Regions from separate parts of the Homo sapiens genome. Here region 1 is linked to region 2. The links are contacts of gene promoters, found by promoter capture Hi-C in human tissues and cell types (Jung and others, 2019). All regions are on one chromosome and are shown on one strand. Each heading gives the region's core, a stretch centred on a gene start or on the middle of the fragment in contact. The rest is flanking DNA. Distances are from core to core; before and after follow the strand shown. Region 1 has its middle 25 kb from the start of LINC02176. Region 2 holds the start of CRISPLD2 (cysteine rich secretory protein LCCL domain containing 2).

Region 1 (7,481 bases), core at 1,291-3,790, 130 kb before region 2:
GTCCACGGTCCCTCCAAAAAAGGACAGTTTAGCCCCCAACACTGAAGGAAGGTCATAATCTGAGTAAGGGCCAGTTCTTGAATTAGGATTTATCAAGGGACACCTGATTTTCTTGTGTTTCCTCAAAGCGTTGACTACTGGGCAATGGGTGGCAGTGGACAGGTGTGTGTGTCTCCTGGGGATGCTGTAACAAAGTGTTGCTAACTGGGGGCTTAGGACAGCAGAAACGTGTGTTCTCTCTGTTCTGGAGGCAGAAGTCTAAAATCAAGGTGTGGGCAAAACCATGATCTCTCTGAAAGTTCTAGGGGAGTGTCCCTTGCTGCCTTGTCCAGCTCCTGCTCACTGCCAGCAGTCCTTGGCGTTCCCTGGCCTGTAGACACATCACTGCAACCTCTGCCTCCATCCTCATATGGGCTTCTCCCCATGTTTGTGTCTAAATTTTCCCCCCTACCTTTTTGTTTTTTTTTTGAGATGGAGTCTCGCTCTGTCGCCCAGGGTGGAGTACAGTGGCACAGTCTCGGCTCACTGCCACCTCTGACTCCTGGGTTTAAGCGATTCTTGCATCTCAGCCTCCTGAGTAACTAGAATTACAGGTGTGCACCGCCACTCCTGGCTACTTTTTGTATTTTTAGTAGAGACGGGGTTTCACCACGTTGGCCAGGCTGGTTTCGAACTCCTGGCCTCAAGTGATCTACCCACCTCGGCCTCCCAAAGTGCTGGGATTACAGGTGTGAGCCACCACGCCTGGCCAATTTTCCTCTTCCTGGAGTCCAGTGGCACAATCTTGGCTCACTGCAACCTCTGCCTCCTGGGTTTAAGCGATTCTCCTGCCTCAGCCTCCCAAGTAGCTGGGAGTACAGGTGTGAGCCACCACGCCTGGCTAAATTTTTGTATTTTTAGTAGAGATGGGGTTTGGTCATGTTGGCCAGGCTAGTCTTGAACTCCTGGCCTCAAGTGATCTGCCCACCTTGGCCTCCCAAAGTCCTGGAATTACAGGCGTGAGCCACCGTGCCTGGCCCAGTTTCTCTCTTCTAAGGACACCAGCCATTGGATTAAGGTCTAGCCTACTCCAGTGTGACCTCATGTTAACGAATTATATTTGCAAAGATTCAATTTCAAAATAGGGTCACATTCACAGGTTTCGGGGATTAGGACCTAAACGTATCTTTTTCGGGGACACAATTCCACCTGGTAGAGTGGGTCAGCATTATGCCTGCCCCCCAACGTACTTTGCTGCCAGCAAAGTGTGAGAAAGACTGAGCCAAGGAGCCATTACCTCCTGGCCTGGGGGTACCGTTGGGGACCCCTGGGCCATTCCACTTTCCCTGGCAGCTGTAGGCTTATTTCCCTTCCAAGGAATGGCTGCCCTGAGGTCAGCCAAGCCAGGTGGAACACAGAGCTTTAGGGCCAGGCCCTGACCTAAGCTCCCTGGGGAGGGAGCACCTTTGACTTTTGGAACGGGAGGGCAGGAAGGTTTGGCCTTGATTGGAGGGCTCTGGGGCACCTGCCAGGCTGCAGGTGTTGACACCTAGCAGCCGCCAGCCCGACCTGATCCCCAGTGCCCAGGCAGGGACCAGAGCGGCTCCCAGGTAGCTGGTGCTGCAGGGAACCTTGGGAGCTCTGCCAAACCAAACAACACATTTCCAGAGAGGTGTGCTGACTGGCCTGAGGTCACACAGCGATCAGACAGGGCCAACATGGGTGGCCGGGGCCCCAACCACATTCCTGCCAATTTGAGCTTCTTAGCCTTTTACCCACCAAGAGGGCACAGGGTGTGGGGGGTAAGTAGTTTTTTTGCCCATGGGAGCCCAGGGCTGATTTTATTTTGAGACAGTCTTGCTCTGTCACCCAGGCTGGAGTGCAGTGGCACCATCTCAGCTCACTGCAGCCTTGCCCTCCCCGGCTAAAGTGATTCTTCCACCTCAACACCCCAAGTAGCTGGGACCACAGGTGTGCACCACCCTACCTGGCTCATTTTTAAAAATTGTTTTTGTAGAGATGGGCTCTCGCTATGTTGCTCAGGCTGGTCTTGGACTCCTAGCCTCAAGCAGTCTTCCTGCCTTGGCCTCCCAAAGTGCTGGGATTACAGCATGAGCCCCACGCCCGGCCAGGGTTGATTTTATAATAGCTTTGTAGTGGCAATCAGGAAGAATCTGTCACCCAATTAGCAGCCAGAATGGAGCTGTGTCAGCAGATGTTTGGGAAAAGGGGCGAGAGGACTGACGTGGCCTGAACCCCTCCTCTGTGCCAGCACTTTCCGCACAGGCTGTCACCAAGTCCCAGCCTCTCCCCTGAGAGGCAGTTAGACACACACCTCACCTGTAGGCAGCCGGAGGTCCACGCAGCTTGGAGTCAGCCTGGAGTTCCCGTCCCTGCTCAGGTCCCCAAGGGGCGTCAGTTCATCTCAGAGAGCCTCAGTTTCCCCATCTGTGAACTGGGGATCACAGGCCCAGTCTCACAGGTGGTCACGAGGATTAGGAATCACATCCCAGGAACGGCCACATAGGAGCTCAAGAAAGATGACGGGTGGATTTTCGACGGGTTCTGTAACAAATGTCCACAGACTTAGCAGCTTAAAAACCTCATTTGTCATTTACGGTTCCACAGGTCAGAAACCCAGCCTCAGTCTCCCTGGGCTTGGGTCACGGTCAACAGGGCTGGTAACTTCTGGGGGTTCTGGGGGAGAATCTGTTTCCCTGCCTTTTCCAGCGTCCAGAGGTCACTGGCATCCCATGGCTCCTGGCCGCTTCGTCCACCTTCAGAGCCGGCAATGTTGCATCTCTGCTGCTGCTTCGGTAATCACAGCACCCTCGGAAAGGTTCTATCACGGCTCCCTCTGACCACAGCTCAGAAAGGTTCCACCACGGCTCCCTCCGACCGCAGCTCAGAAAGGTTCTCTGATTCTAAGGACTCGTGTGACTCGATTAGGTCCACCTGGATGACCCGGGTTACCCTCCCTATGGCAAGGTGCCCCTTGCCCCACCTGCAAAGTGCCTTTTGCCACGTCAGGTAACCTGCACAGGTTTGGGGAATTAGGGCGAGCTGAATCGCCGAGCTCATCGGGCCACAGGTGAGTTGAGTTGAATTCTGGAAAGCAAGGGAGGCCTGGGCTGGCCTCTGGCGGTTCTTTTTGGAAGAAGAAGATTCCACTAAAACCAGCTCATTCTAGGACCACTTCCCATCTTTCTGCTGTTTTTGACTCTTTTCAAAGAGGCCCTGTCTAGCCAAGGAGACTGGGTCACGTCTGCCAAACCTTTGCTTCAAAATAAACCCTACTAGGAAATTTCCATGGGACTGGGCCCTTTTCTTCCCCCACGGACCTGCTTGAAGTTCAAAACCTGGCGGGGCTTCTGTACAAAAGGGCACCGGTCATTACGCGGCCCTGAGAGCAGGTTTTCTGTTGTTGTTTGTGTGGGTTTTGTTTGCTTTCCCCGTCTCCATCTCTCCACCCGGTGGGGTCGTAGCAAGATGGTCACCTCTGTCACCTCCCCCAAGTCCCTCTTGCAGCCGCCTCCTTGCTGTTTGCCTTTCTGTCCCCAGGGCTGCATCTTGCACGTGTCCCCTGTCTGATTTCCACTGTGGTCAGGTCACGTGTGGCTCTGGGAATTCCAGGAAAGCCTGGCTTTCAAGACCACTGTCTCATCAAACACTTAAACCTTAAAAACCCTTATTTTGATGCTCAAAGCTGAGTGTGGATTCCTCTGTACCTGTTCTCTTCCCTGAGCAAGAAGCCTCATTTTCAGAGCCTGGTCGTGATAGGAGAAGAGGTGCTGGGGGCCCCCAAAAGAAACTTCCGGAGCTATTTCATAACATCCTTTGCCTGTAGACGTAAAGCCAGCAGCCAGCAAGTGGCAGTCCATTCATGGGACACAGCCCTCTCCAGGAATCACTAAGCTCATATTTGCTGCTCTGTGCTGGGGCTCTCTGGAAGGACAAAAGACACCAGCAATGTGGAAGGGAAATGGGGCTTTGGGATGGGAGGGGACTTGGTTTCCTGACCCTTTTGCACCGTGACACTGGACATGTGTCTGAGTGTCTTTTACTGAAGGAGGAAACATTCCTTCTCTTGCCTCTTTCCAGAAAAGGTCAGGTGGCTCAATTCATCCTGTCTGAAATGAAGAATGAAACAGTTGGTGGTGGTCTTTTGCTGGCAGGCTGTACTTTGGGAAGTCCCCAGGCCATGGCTGATAAGGGCCTGCGGCCTATGGTGCAGTCTCAAGCAGAGAGAGGCCACAGGCATGTGAGGGAGGCCCTGGCCTTGGGGCCCCCTTTGTCTGGCTGGTGGAGTTTATCTCCCTTCCCAGATGAGGCCAGGAGCTGTGGAGTCAGCTCCTGGCCTCTCTGCCCATTGGCTGGCTGTCTGCCTGGGGCCTGAGATTCACCAGCCCTGCACGAAGATTAAGGGGATCAGGATTCCATCCCCTCCCCTTGCTCAACCTCTGAAGTCAGGTCCCAGCCAGGCACCCATTGGAGAAAACCCAGGCTAGCCAGACCTTCTGCCGTCTGGGTCAGCTCCGTGTAGCGCTGGCCTGTCTGTCTGGTGTCTCCTGGAGAGCATGACTTGGTGGTGTGCCATCTCAAATGTCTCCCGCCAGCTGCAGACTTGGTTATTGCCTTTTGTGAGCGGTGTTCACCCAGCGTTAATGGAATGGGCATTCTCTGAAGGGCTGCAAGTAACACTTAGAACCAAGCCCAGGACTGGCCGGGCAGCAATGTCTGCAGCCTGGAGCTGCCCATGTATGTTAAGAGTGTCATTCCCTAAAAGGCCACCAGAGGGTGCTGCTCAGAGCCACATCGCGACAAACCCTCTATGGCTCCTTATGGCTCTCAGGATGAGGGCTGGGGCTCACAAGCCGGTGTACAAAGTTGTGAATGATCTGGCCGCTGACCTCTCCAGCTCCATCTTATTCTCCTCCGTGCTATGTGTTCCAGCCACGCTGGCTTCCTCACAGTTGCTGGAAAAGATTATTTCCTGCAGCCGCAGGTCTTTTGCACATGTTATGCCCACTTCTTTTTTTTTTTTTTTTTTTGAGACGGAGTTTCGCTCTTGTTGCCAGGCTGGAGCGCAGTGGTGCGATCTCGGCTCACTGCAACCTCCATCTCCCAGGTTCAAGTGATTCTCCTGCCTCAGCCTCCCAAGCAGCTGGGATTACAGGCGCCCGCCAGCACGCCCAGCTAATCTTTGTATTTCTAATAGAGATGGGGTTTCACCATGTTTTCCAGGCCAGTCTCGAGCTCCTGACCTCAGGTGATCCACCAGCCTTGTCCTCCCAAAGTGCTGGGATTACAGGCATGAGCCACCGTGCCCAGCTAATTTTTGTATTTCTAATAGAGATGGGGTTTCACCATGTTGTCCAGGCTGGCCTTGAACTCGTGACCTCAGGTGATCTGCCTGCCTCATCCTCCCAAAGTGCTGGGATTACAGGTGTGAGCCATTGTTCCCGGCCCCGCCCACTTCTTAGAAGGCTGTTCCACTCATCTTCACCCAGAGAAGTCCTAGTCACCCTTTAGGCCTTACCTGAAACACTGGTCCCAGAGTGAGGGGCCTTTCTAAACCCCTCCTTGAAGTCACTGGACCCTGCTCGACATGCTGGAGCCCAGCATTCTCCCTGCAGCAGGCGCCACCCATGCAGTGAAGTCATGAGTTCTGTCCTGGCTTGTCCACTGTCTGTCTTCACTGCTGGTTCCCTATGCCCTGTGCAGTGCCTGGCACCTAGGAGCTGCTCAGGAAGCTGTATTGCACTGGATGCTCACTGAACGCCACCTGGTATAGATATTAGTGCTGGGCACCAAATATTTCTGGTTGTCTCTCTTCTAGGCACCTGGTAGGATTAGACTTTCTGCCCCTTTTGAGGGGATGTGGCACGCATTGTCATTCTCCTACCTGTAGCCGGGAAGCATGTGAGCAGAAGAGACATGCGTCCCTGCCCAGGCTGGAGCATTTACTCACCAACGTGAGCGCCTCTGGCACGGCTGCTGGCAACCGTTGAGATGTGGCTACTCCCTGAGCTGGGGCCCCCTAGTGTCCATGATGAGCAGAACCCCCCGCTGGCCTCTGACACAGAGAATGAGCAAGGAACACATCCTTATTGTCTTCAGCCACTGGGATTTGGGGTTTGTTTGTCACAGCGGCACAATGTGGCCAGTCCTGACTGATACACCACCTGCTGCCCAAAGGCAGGAAAAGTGCAATCACCCTGGGGCCGAGCTGGCTTAGGGGGCCAAGATCTAGGAGTGCTTGAAGGTGGTCAGGAAGCAAAGGCTCTGTGGCAGCTGGGGGAAGGCTGGTGTGGCTGCAGCAGCAGGCGCTGGGAATGGGCCCAGACAGGTCACAGGGTCAGACCCTACTGGGCCCAGTAGATCATAAGGGTGTGGCTCTTTAGGTTCATACCATGCCTGGTCCAGCGCCCTCAGTTGGTGGAACTCATTGTTAAATAGCAATTAATAAATTGGCAATAGATTTATATAAATTTTTTAGAGATAGGGTCTTGCTCTGTTGTCCAGGCTGGAGTGCAGTGGAAAAATAATTTACTCCTAAGAAATTAATACAATTGATTTCATTTGTTATTTAATAATTTAATCAATGACTAAAAATTAATCAATTAAATAATAACTTGAGGTCTCAGAGAAGGGTTCTTTTTCCCCTTTCTTCATACACACGAAATATATTTTTCTACTTGGCCTGAAATTCCACCATTAGAGTAAAATTCCTCTGGCTTGTGAGGAATGGGTCCAGCTGAGGCAGGGGGTGAAGGGTGATGGGCACGGCACTCCAGAGGTTGTGCAGCTCGGTGGCCCTTAGGTGACATTTGAACAGAGACCAGGACAATGGGAGAGAGGGAGTCATGTGGGGCTCAGGAATGGTGTGCAGATGGAAGGAACAGCATGTACGAAGGCCTGAGGCAGGACATCCTTCTGTTTAGAGAACTAGGAGCCGATGCCAACCTGGAGGGAGAGGGAGAGGGCTAGGATAGCTGGGAAGATAATTACATGGCTGTGCAGAAAGCTGAAGGAGGTGTTAGTTGGATGTGGGAGTCAAAAGGAGTCCAGGCCACTTTCTCTTTTTATCAAACTGGAGAAACACACCTCCTTTCCATTTTAATGTCTCTGGAATCAGGATGCTCCTCACCTGCAGTGGCAGCTCATATTTGATGAAATACGGTAATTGCAAAGCCGGTTCAAGAAGCAAAGGTTTAGCCCTTGAGTGGAGCCCTTGAAGAGTTGCTGCTGTACTCATGGTTGGTGGCACCGAGAGAACATGGACCTTGATCACTCAGAGTTAAGGAGTGATTCAGAGAGTCAGACTCCAAAAGTGAAGAAGTTTAGGACATTCTGTAATCCACCCATTTCACTCGTGTTTCCTTTGTTTACGTGTGCCCGGAGTGTTCATAAGAATCTAAATAAGTCTCGCAGAGCTCTTTTGGCAAGTATCAAATACAAACTAAGGGATACGCAGGCCCCGCGGTGGAGGATTCGCGCTT
Region 2 (7,726 bases), core at 4,740-7,239:
CCCACTTTTTTTTTTTTGAGACAGGGTCTCACTCTGTTGTTCAGGTTGGAGTGCCGTGGCGTGAACACTGCTCACTGCAGCCTCAGCCTCCTGGGCTCAAGTCTTCTACCTCCCAAGAAGCTGGAATTACAGGTGTGCCCTACCACGGCTGGCTAATTTTTTTTCTTCTTTTATTTTATGTATTTATGTATTTATTTTTATTTATTTATTTATTTATTTGAGATGGAGTCTCGCTCTGTCACCCAGGCTGGAGTGCAGTGTGTGATCTTGGCTCACTGCAGCCTCTGCCTCCCAGGCTCAAGCGGTTCTCCTCCCTCAGCCTCCCAAGTAGCTGGGATTACAGGCGTGCACCACCACGCCTAGCTAATTTTTGTATTTCCAGTAGAAACAAGGTTTTGCCATGTTAGCCAGGCTGGTCTCGAACTCCTGACCTCAAGTGATCTGCCCACCTTGGCCTCCCAAAGTGCTGAGACTATAGGTGTACGCCACTGCGCTGGGCCTTTCTTCCTTTATTTTAGAAACATGGAGAGGACAAGACACACTGAGAGGACACCAGCTAATTTTTAAATTTTTTGTAGAGACAGCATCTCACTATGTTGCACAAGCTGGACTCGAACTCCTGGGCTCAGGCAATCCTCCCGCCTAGACCTCCCAAAGTGTTAAGGTTACAGGCATGAGCCACGGCGCCTGGCTGCTGGCCCCCACTCTGAGAAGCACTTCTCTAAATTATAACAGCCTCTCAGTTCTCCTTCTTCCCCGACCTTGATCCAGCATTTCCCAAACCCTGTCCTTTGAATATCCCCCTTCCCAAGTTTTGCCCACCTTCCTACTGTGTACTGGTACCAGTACATATTTTGTTTTTGTTTTGAAATGGCATCTCGCTCCGTCACCCAGGCTGGAGTGCAGTGGTGGCGTGATCTCGGCTCACTGCAACCTCCGCCTCCCGGGTTCAAGCAATTCTTCTGTCTCAGCCTCCCGAGTAGCTGGGACTACAGGTGCCTGCCACCACGCCCGGCTAATTTTTGTATTTTTAGTAGAGATGGGGTTTCACCTTGTTGGTCAGGCTGGTCTCAAACTCCTGACCTCAGGTGATCCACCGTCTCAGCCTCCCAAAGTGCTGGGATGACAGGCATGAGCCACCGCGCCTGGCCCCATATTTTGTATTTTTATTTAACTTGGCTTGTTTTTTGCGTTCCAAGAAATTTACTTTAAAAAGGTAACTTTCTATCACTCCCACTGGCAGAGAACCTGATCACTGGTGCCGTGAACAGACGGCAGGAGTGAAATTAAACACAGTAAAAACAACAGTTACTTCCTCCCAGCCAGGCACTGACACCAACCAAAGGCTTTGTTGTAGAGGATGCTTGCTCTTTGTTGTAAAAGGAGATCAGGGTGTGGGAGAGGTGATAGGGACAATTCCACCTGTGACTTTCACCTTGCCATAAGCAGAAGGACCGGAAGAACAGAGAATGGAAAGAACAGAGAATGGAAAGAACAGCTCTTGGACTGGGGGGATTTGCTGCTGGATCTGTGCCCGTGCTCAGTCACCTTGGGGACCCCTAGGTATTGGCTCTGCACACTTTGGAGGACACAGTTCATTCTAGAGTGAGCTGTTCTCAAGTTCTCAGTGCCACCGTGTTACTCTCTGTTCATCTTGATGGTGCCCACTAAGTGGTACAGCTCATCACAACACCTGCAGGACAGACCTTTGCTGCCCTGAGCCTGGCTCGTAGACTACAGGCACACCAAACTTCCTGCCATTCTCCAAGAGTCCCAGGCCCTTCTCCACCTGCAGGCCTTTGCACACACACGGTGCCTCTGCCTGGGGCACCCTCGCCAGCTCCCCACCCACCCACTATCATCTTCCCCTGCTCGCAAAACCCTGCCTGTTTCCTCTAGGCGTTATCAGGCTCTTCTCAAGTCAGTCTCAGAAGATGCCAGCTCCATGCCAGCTCCCAGTCCTTAGAGGGGTCCAGTTGAGTCTTTTCCCTATTCAAAAAATATTTGGGGTAGGGTCAGTTCCAGCTCACTTGATTACAAGCAAAATGGGAGCATGACTTTTTTTCCTGGGATGTTGCCATTCTGTGCTCAAAATAAAACACGTTCCAGAAATTGGGATTGAAAATGTGGGATTTCATAATTTATAATTTTTAAAAAATGATGGTCCGGAAATTGCACAATCCTCATCAGGACGTTTTTTTTCCCTCTGACTCTGTGGTTTTTGTCTTAGCTGATGCAGCACTCAAGACAATCAAAGATAAATCTCCCTCGGGCTGGACCATGATGTCCTCGCAGCCTTGCAAGAGGGGTCTTTGTCCAAGAGTACTCGTCATTGTACAGCCTGGGGTAGAAGGCAGGGCTCCCCCAGGGCGATGTCTCAGGATTCCCTGCCTGCTGCTGCTGTGACCCAGGTGGCACGCCAACACTGCCCACAAATGCCAAATGCCAGGGCTTCCCTGCACCCATGGAGAAGGCCAGCAACACATTCTGGAATGACATGACCTGAGTTGATGCTTCAAGAAGGAACTCAAAAAAGAGGCCACAGTCTCCTCAATAAGTTAAACATAAAGTTACCATATGACCCAGCAATTCCCTCCCAGGTAAACACTCAAGAGATATGAAAACATCCGCCCTCAAAAAACCTTGTACACAAATGTTCACAGCAGAAGCCTCTGTAAAAGCCAAAGGTGGAAACAGCCCAGATTTCCTTCAGTGGAAGAATGAATAAACAAAACGTGGTCTATTAATGCAATGGAATATTACTCAGCCATAAAAAAGGAACGAAGGTCTCATACACATTACAACATGGATGAACCTTGAAAACATGATGCTGAGTGAGAGGAGCCAGACACAAAAGGCCACACATTGTGTGGTTCCATTTACATGAAATGTCCAGAATAAGCAAGTTCGTAGAGACAGAAAGGAGATGAGCGGCTGAAGGGAGGAGAATGGCGAATGATGCCTAATGGGCCTGGGGTTTCCTTACGAGATGATGAAACGCTCTGGAATTAGTGGTGGTGGCTGCACAATACTTCCAATGTACTAAACGCCACTGAATTGTACACTTCAAAATGGGTTAAATGGTAAATTTTATGTTTATGTGTATTTTTACCACAATACATCTTTTCAGGAAAAAGAAAAACAGAACATGGCCCATCCTATTAACCACCACCCAGATCTACCTGTCCCTTGCCTGTCCCAGAACTCAGCGTGCTCTATTTAAGACTTTACAACGTGCTTTAGGTCCCTGTCCCTGGAAGGTCTGAGCATCTGTTCCACTCAATGAACTGAAGACGAAGTGAAATATGCCCAGATTGAATTTTCCTTTCCTGACAAGCCGTCAGCCCGTTTGAGTGATCCTGGGTTTGCACATCTGGGACTGATCAAAAACCAGTGCGTTTGCAAAAGAAGAAAAAAGAAAAAGAAAGAAAAAGCCTCCTGAGTCTGGCGCAGGCAGACATGCAGACACCTCCCACACACAGCAAATGACGCTGGTGACAGAGGAAAGAAAAGTTCCAGTTCCCACAGGCCAAAGAGGTCAGTGCCCTGCCTCCAAAAACTTTCTGACCTCCAAAGACGTCAGAGGGTCCTGCCTCCAAAAACTTTCAAATGCAACTTACAAAGGGCCACATACTTAATTTGTGGTCTTTTGAGGGATGAAGTGCAGAGGTTTTAAGAGACCTCGCAGTCTTCTTCCCTAGCTCAGGCCTTCCCAGTCAAACCAACTCTCCTCTCCAGGACAGAGGCAGGACTCAGAACCAGCACTGATTTGGGTCCTGGGACGGGGCTCTCAGTACCTGTCAGCAATGTTGAGCCCAAGCCCAGGGTCAGTTGATCCCCTCCCAGCCTCACCCCAACAGGGACCAGGGACCCAGATCCCTGCCAACGTTAAAAAAACTCCCACATGGCACAGAAAGCCTCAACTAGCAGCAAGCTCTGCTGGGACAGTCATGTGGCTGGTCATTAGATGGGCACCTTCCCCCAGAATCTGGGGCAGGGCCCAGCCTGGACGGCAGCTCTACCCCGCCCTGGCTGTGTCATGTTGGGCACACACCTTAATAATTCTGAGCCTCAACTAACTCCTTGTAAAAAGTGCCCAGCTAATAGAGCAGGCAGTGAGCTCATCCGTGGAAACCCTGGGCATGTCTGGTCTGTACTAAGCATCATGTAAATGTCAGCTGCTTGTATTATTACAAATGGCATTATTACTATTCCTACTCTCACATCTTAAGAAACTCTGAAAAAATCAAAATCACCCTCTTGGTTTCTCCTCCCTGGGTACATTGTCCAGTGGTTTTAACTGGAGCCCCTGTAAGACAAAACATCACCTGTGTGAAGGTCAGGTTCATGGGTGGAGTTGGCAGTGGGCAGGGAAGTGTCTTAAAGAAAGCAGGGTCAAGAGTGCAGATAGGACCCACCTGGGGGTGACAGCATTCCATACCAGCTGGGGGATCTTAGGCAAGCACTTCACCTTGCTGAGCCTCAGTTTCCTCAGCTGTGAAGTGGGCATCAAGAGGCCTACTCCCCGGGGTGTTGCAGCGATGACAATACAGGTAAACTGCGTGGCACAGACCGCGTGCCTGCCGCACAGGCAACACAGTCACACACCCACCCCTTCTCCTGAGTGGGAACAGCCAGATCAGGGGCAGAAGCAGAAAATCAGGTGCATACAACCCAAGGAGCCCTGGGACAGCCGACAGTCACAACTCATGGCCTCAGTCTACTGGAAAGGACCACGCCCCGGTCCTGTTCTGCAGGCTCTCCTCACTGTCAGACATCAGACCCTGGATGGGGAAAGCAGGCTCACCCCATTCTACCAGGGCAAGAGGTCCAAAGGCCCAAAGGGGAAACTCACAACCCCACTCTCGGTTGCAAGGCAAGCTAGGCATTTGCACGGGATGCTTCTCTCAGCCAGGGCAGCAACTCACATTTTGGCTGAGAGACGCCCAATTCAAGTTGGACTGCGATGAGCAGGCATCAGCGAAGTCCTCCCTGGCTTGTCCACCAGCCCAGCCTTAGCAAGGGAGGCTCTGGGTCTGCAGCACATGAGGGACTAGCCCTGGCTCTGTCCACGTGGGACGACCGATCTCCCCCACACTCCAGAGTGAGCCCTCCGCTTCCAGGGTAACTCTCCCCACGCAGGAGTTATGCAGGTGCCCGCTCTGGCTAAAGAAACCCAGAAACGTGTTCCCCCAGACTGCAGAACCCTGACATGGCCCCAAGTCTCTACACATCCATTTGAAGCTCTGGAGACAGACAGAGCTGGGTTCCAGCCCTGGCTCTGCCCGGACAACTTACTTCACCTCTCTGACCCTCAGCATCTTCATCTGAAATGTGGGAAGAAGGCTACCTTGCAAATGAAATCACAGAGGGGCGTGGCCCTCTAAACTGCAGCTGAATGCACATGCCACTAGATCACCCTGGTCCTCCAGACATGAGTAGGACACATTCTAATGCCTGCCATATCCATGCCATCAGCTTTCCAGTTATTGACACCCACTACGAACACAGGAATGCAACAAATGCTAGTGAACTGCACGAGGAAGGCAAGAGAGTAAACAGCCTCTAAGGAGCAGGATTCTGCGCTCAGATCGGCGTTGAATCCTGGGTCCTTGGAGTCCTGGCTGCGAGGTCCTGGACAAATGAGTTGTCCTCGCTGAGCCTCAGTTTCTCCATCTGCAAAAGGGCATGTCGCAAAGCTGTGTTCCGCTATGCAAGCAGAGCACTCGGTGTGGTGCCAGCACACAGTCAGCCCTGCGAGGTGGCATCTGTCCTAGTTATTCCAGCTTCTCGGGGGGGTAACAGTTTGCAAAAGGGAGAAGCATGGAAATCACACTTACCTCCGCAGGGCTCCAATCACCAGCTCGCTGGCGTCTCCCGCGTCCAGCAGACGCGGTAGCAGCGGCGACAGCGCGGGCACAGCAGGCACAGCGGGCACAGCGAGCAGACAGCTCAATAGGAGCAGCCGGAGACGCCCTGGGATGCGAGTGGGTGCCGGGGCTCAGCGTACCGCCTCTTGTAGGCTCCCCGGAGCCCGGAGGCCACGCCCCCAGATCGCTGGCGGCGCTGGTAGGACCGAGCATCACCGGCCCCGCCCCCGGCCCCGCCCCGCAGGCTCAGCGGGCTGAAGGAGGCGGGGGGCAGCTGAGGCGCGGGCGCCGGGTGGGCGAGGAAGGCGGGGCCGCTGGCCTCCAGGGCCGGCTAGGGACAAGGAGACGCTCAGCTCCCTCGCCACTGGCCACACAAGCATAGTTTTCATTGAGCGCTTACTATGCGCCTGGCGCGGTGCCAAGCGCTTCCCACAAGGGGCTTGCAAATTTACCAAACCCCAGCTCTCTGCAGCTCAACTGGAAAATAGGAATAAGGAGGCGACCTCCCAGGATTTTAGCAAATGAAATCCGCAAGGGCTGGGCGCTGTGAACTGTGGCGCGGTGCAGAGTACACAGTTACTGAGGTGACTCCCACCCTCTACACGTGCTCAGAAAACTTAGGCCCCCTCTTCCCAATTTGCAGACGAAGAAAGGGAGACTTGTTTCCGGATGGGGCCGCTAGCGCGGGGATCCAGGCTCCGCACTTTACCTTCAACGACCCTAGGACGCGTTCCCAGGAATCCAGGGAGGTGGAAATCACCTCATTTCACAGATCCAGTAGCTGAGGCTTGGAGAAGAGCGTGCCCCAAGTCCCGTAGCTAGGAGCAGTGCAGCATGTTCATATCTCTTTTGCCCGGAGGCATTTAGCATTTTTAACCTGTGCAGGTACATACGGAAATCAATTTAGAGCCAGACGAAATCACCTTTGAAACAGGTAAATCCACGTTCCTTAAGAGCTAAGGGACTGCCCCGTGCTCCCGCCTCAGTCACAAAATGTGGACGGGTATGCAGGCACTGCGCGGTAAGGTGCTGGGGCCCAAGGGCAGGAGGGGGCCTGTCCGCACTGCTCATCTCCGCACCAAGACACCGGAATTAGCTCCTCCAGCATTAACTCATTCCCCAAATACCCATCGAGTCGCTCTGTGCCGGGCCCTGTGCTATACAGCAGGCACAAACAAGACACCTCCGGGATCTCAGAGTCTGGGGCCCCCACGAGCTAGGGCACGTGGGAGAAACAAGGATGGGGAATGGGTGGAACAAGGACTATGGAAGGCTGCCTGCGTGACGTGGACTCAAACAGGGAAGGCTTGCCTAAGATTTTGGTGCGGCTCAAATGCAGATACAGAATAATGCAGACTGGCCGGGCGCGGTGGCTCACACCTGTAATCCCAGCACTGTGGGAGTTTGAGGCGGGCGGATCACCTGAGATCAGGAGTTCGAAACCATCCCGGCCAACATGGTGACACTGTCTCTACTAAAAATACAAAAATTAGCCGGGCATGGTGGTGCATGCCTGTAGTCCCAGCTACTTGGGAGGCTGAGGCAGGAGAATCGCTCGAACCTGAGAGGCAGAGGTTGCAGTGAGCTGAGATGGCGCCATTGCACTCTAGCCTAGGAGACAAGAACAAAACTCCATCTCAAAAAGATAATAATAATGCAGATGTTTTCTGTTATCTTTTTTTCCTCTTTTTGTTTTACTTTTCTCAGTCTTTGAAGCATCATTCTTCAGAGGCACTCAACTGGCATGCAGTCATCCAATAATTAAGCACCTACTATGTGCTGGGCTCTGTTTCAAGCACTGGAGGGCTCAGTAGTGAATAAGACTGTTCCAGAACAACAGTCCTTGGATTGACAAA

The links. The method cuts DNA at HindIII sites, captures the fragments that hold promoters and counts their contacts. A contact is called where the count stands out against the background at its distance.
Region 1: a fragment that was not itself captured here is called in contact with the fragment with the promoter of CRISPLD2 in region 2 in 1 of the 25 tissues and cell types used here (mesenchymal stem cells).

Annotation. Positions count from the first base shown.
Region 1 is chr16:84,949,683-84,957,163 of GRCh38, reverse strand. No RefSeq gene overlaps it. Among named protein-coding and RNA genes, the nearest start is that of LINC02176, 25 kb to the right of the region's middle. The HindIII fragment of the contact is 5,993 bases long and covers 1-5,536 here.
Region 2 is chr16:84,818,248-84,825,973 of GRCh38, reverse strand. CRISPLD2 (cysteine rich secretory protein LCCL domain containing 2) reads right to left here and starts at 5,989. Exons shown (of 15, transcript NM_031476.4): 1 at 5,841-5,989. RefSeq lists a silencer at 6,027-6,216. The HindIII fragment of the contact is 19,202 bases long and covers 1-7,726 here.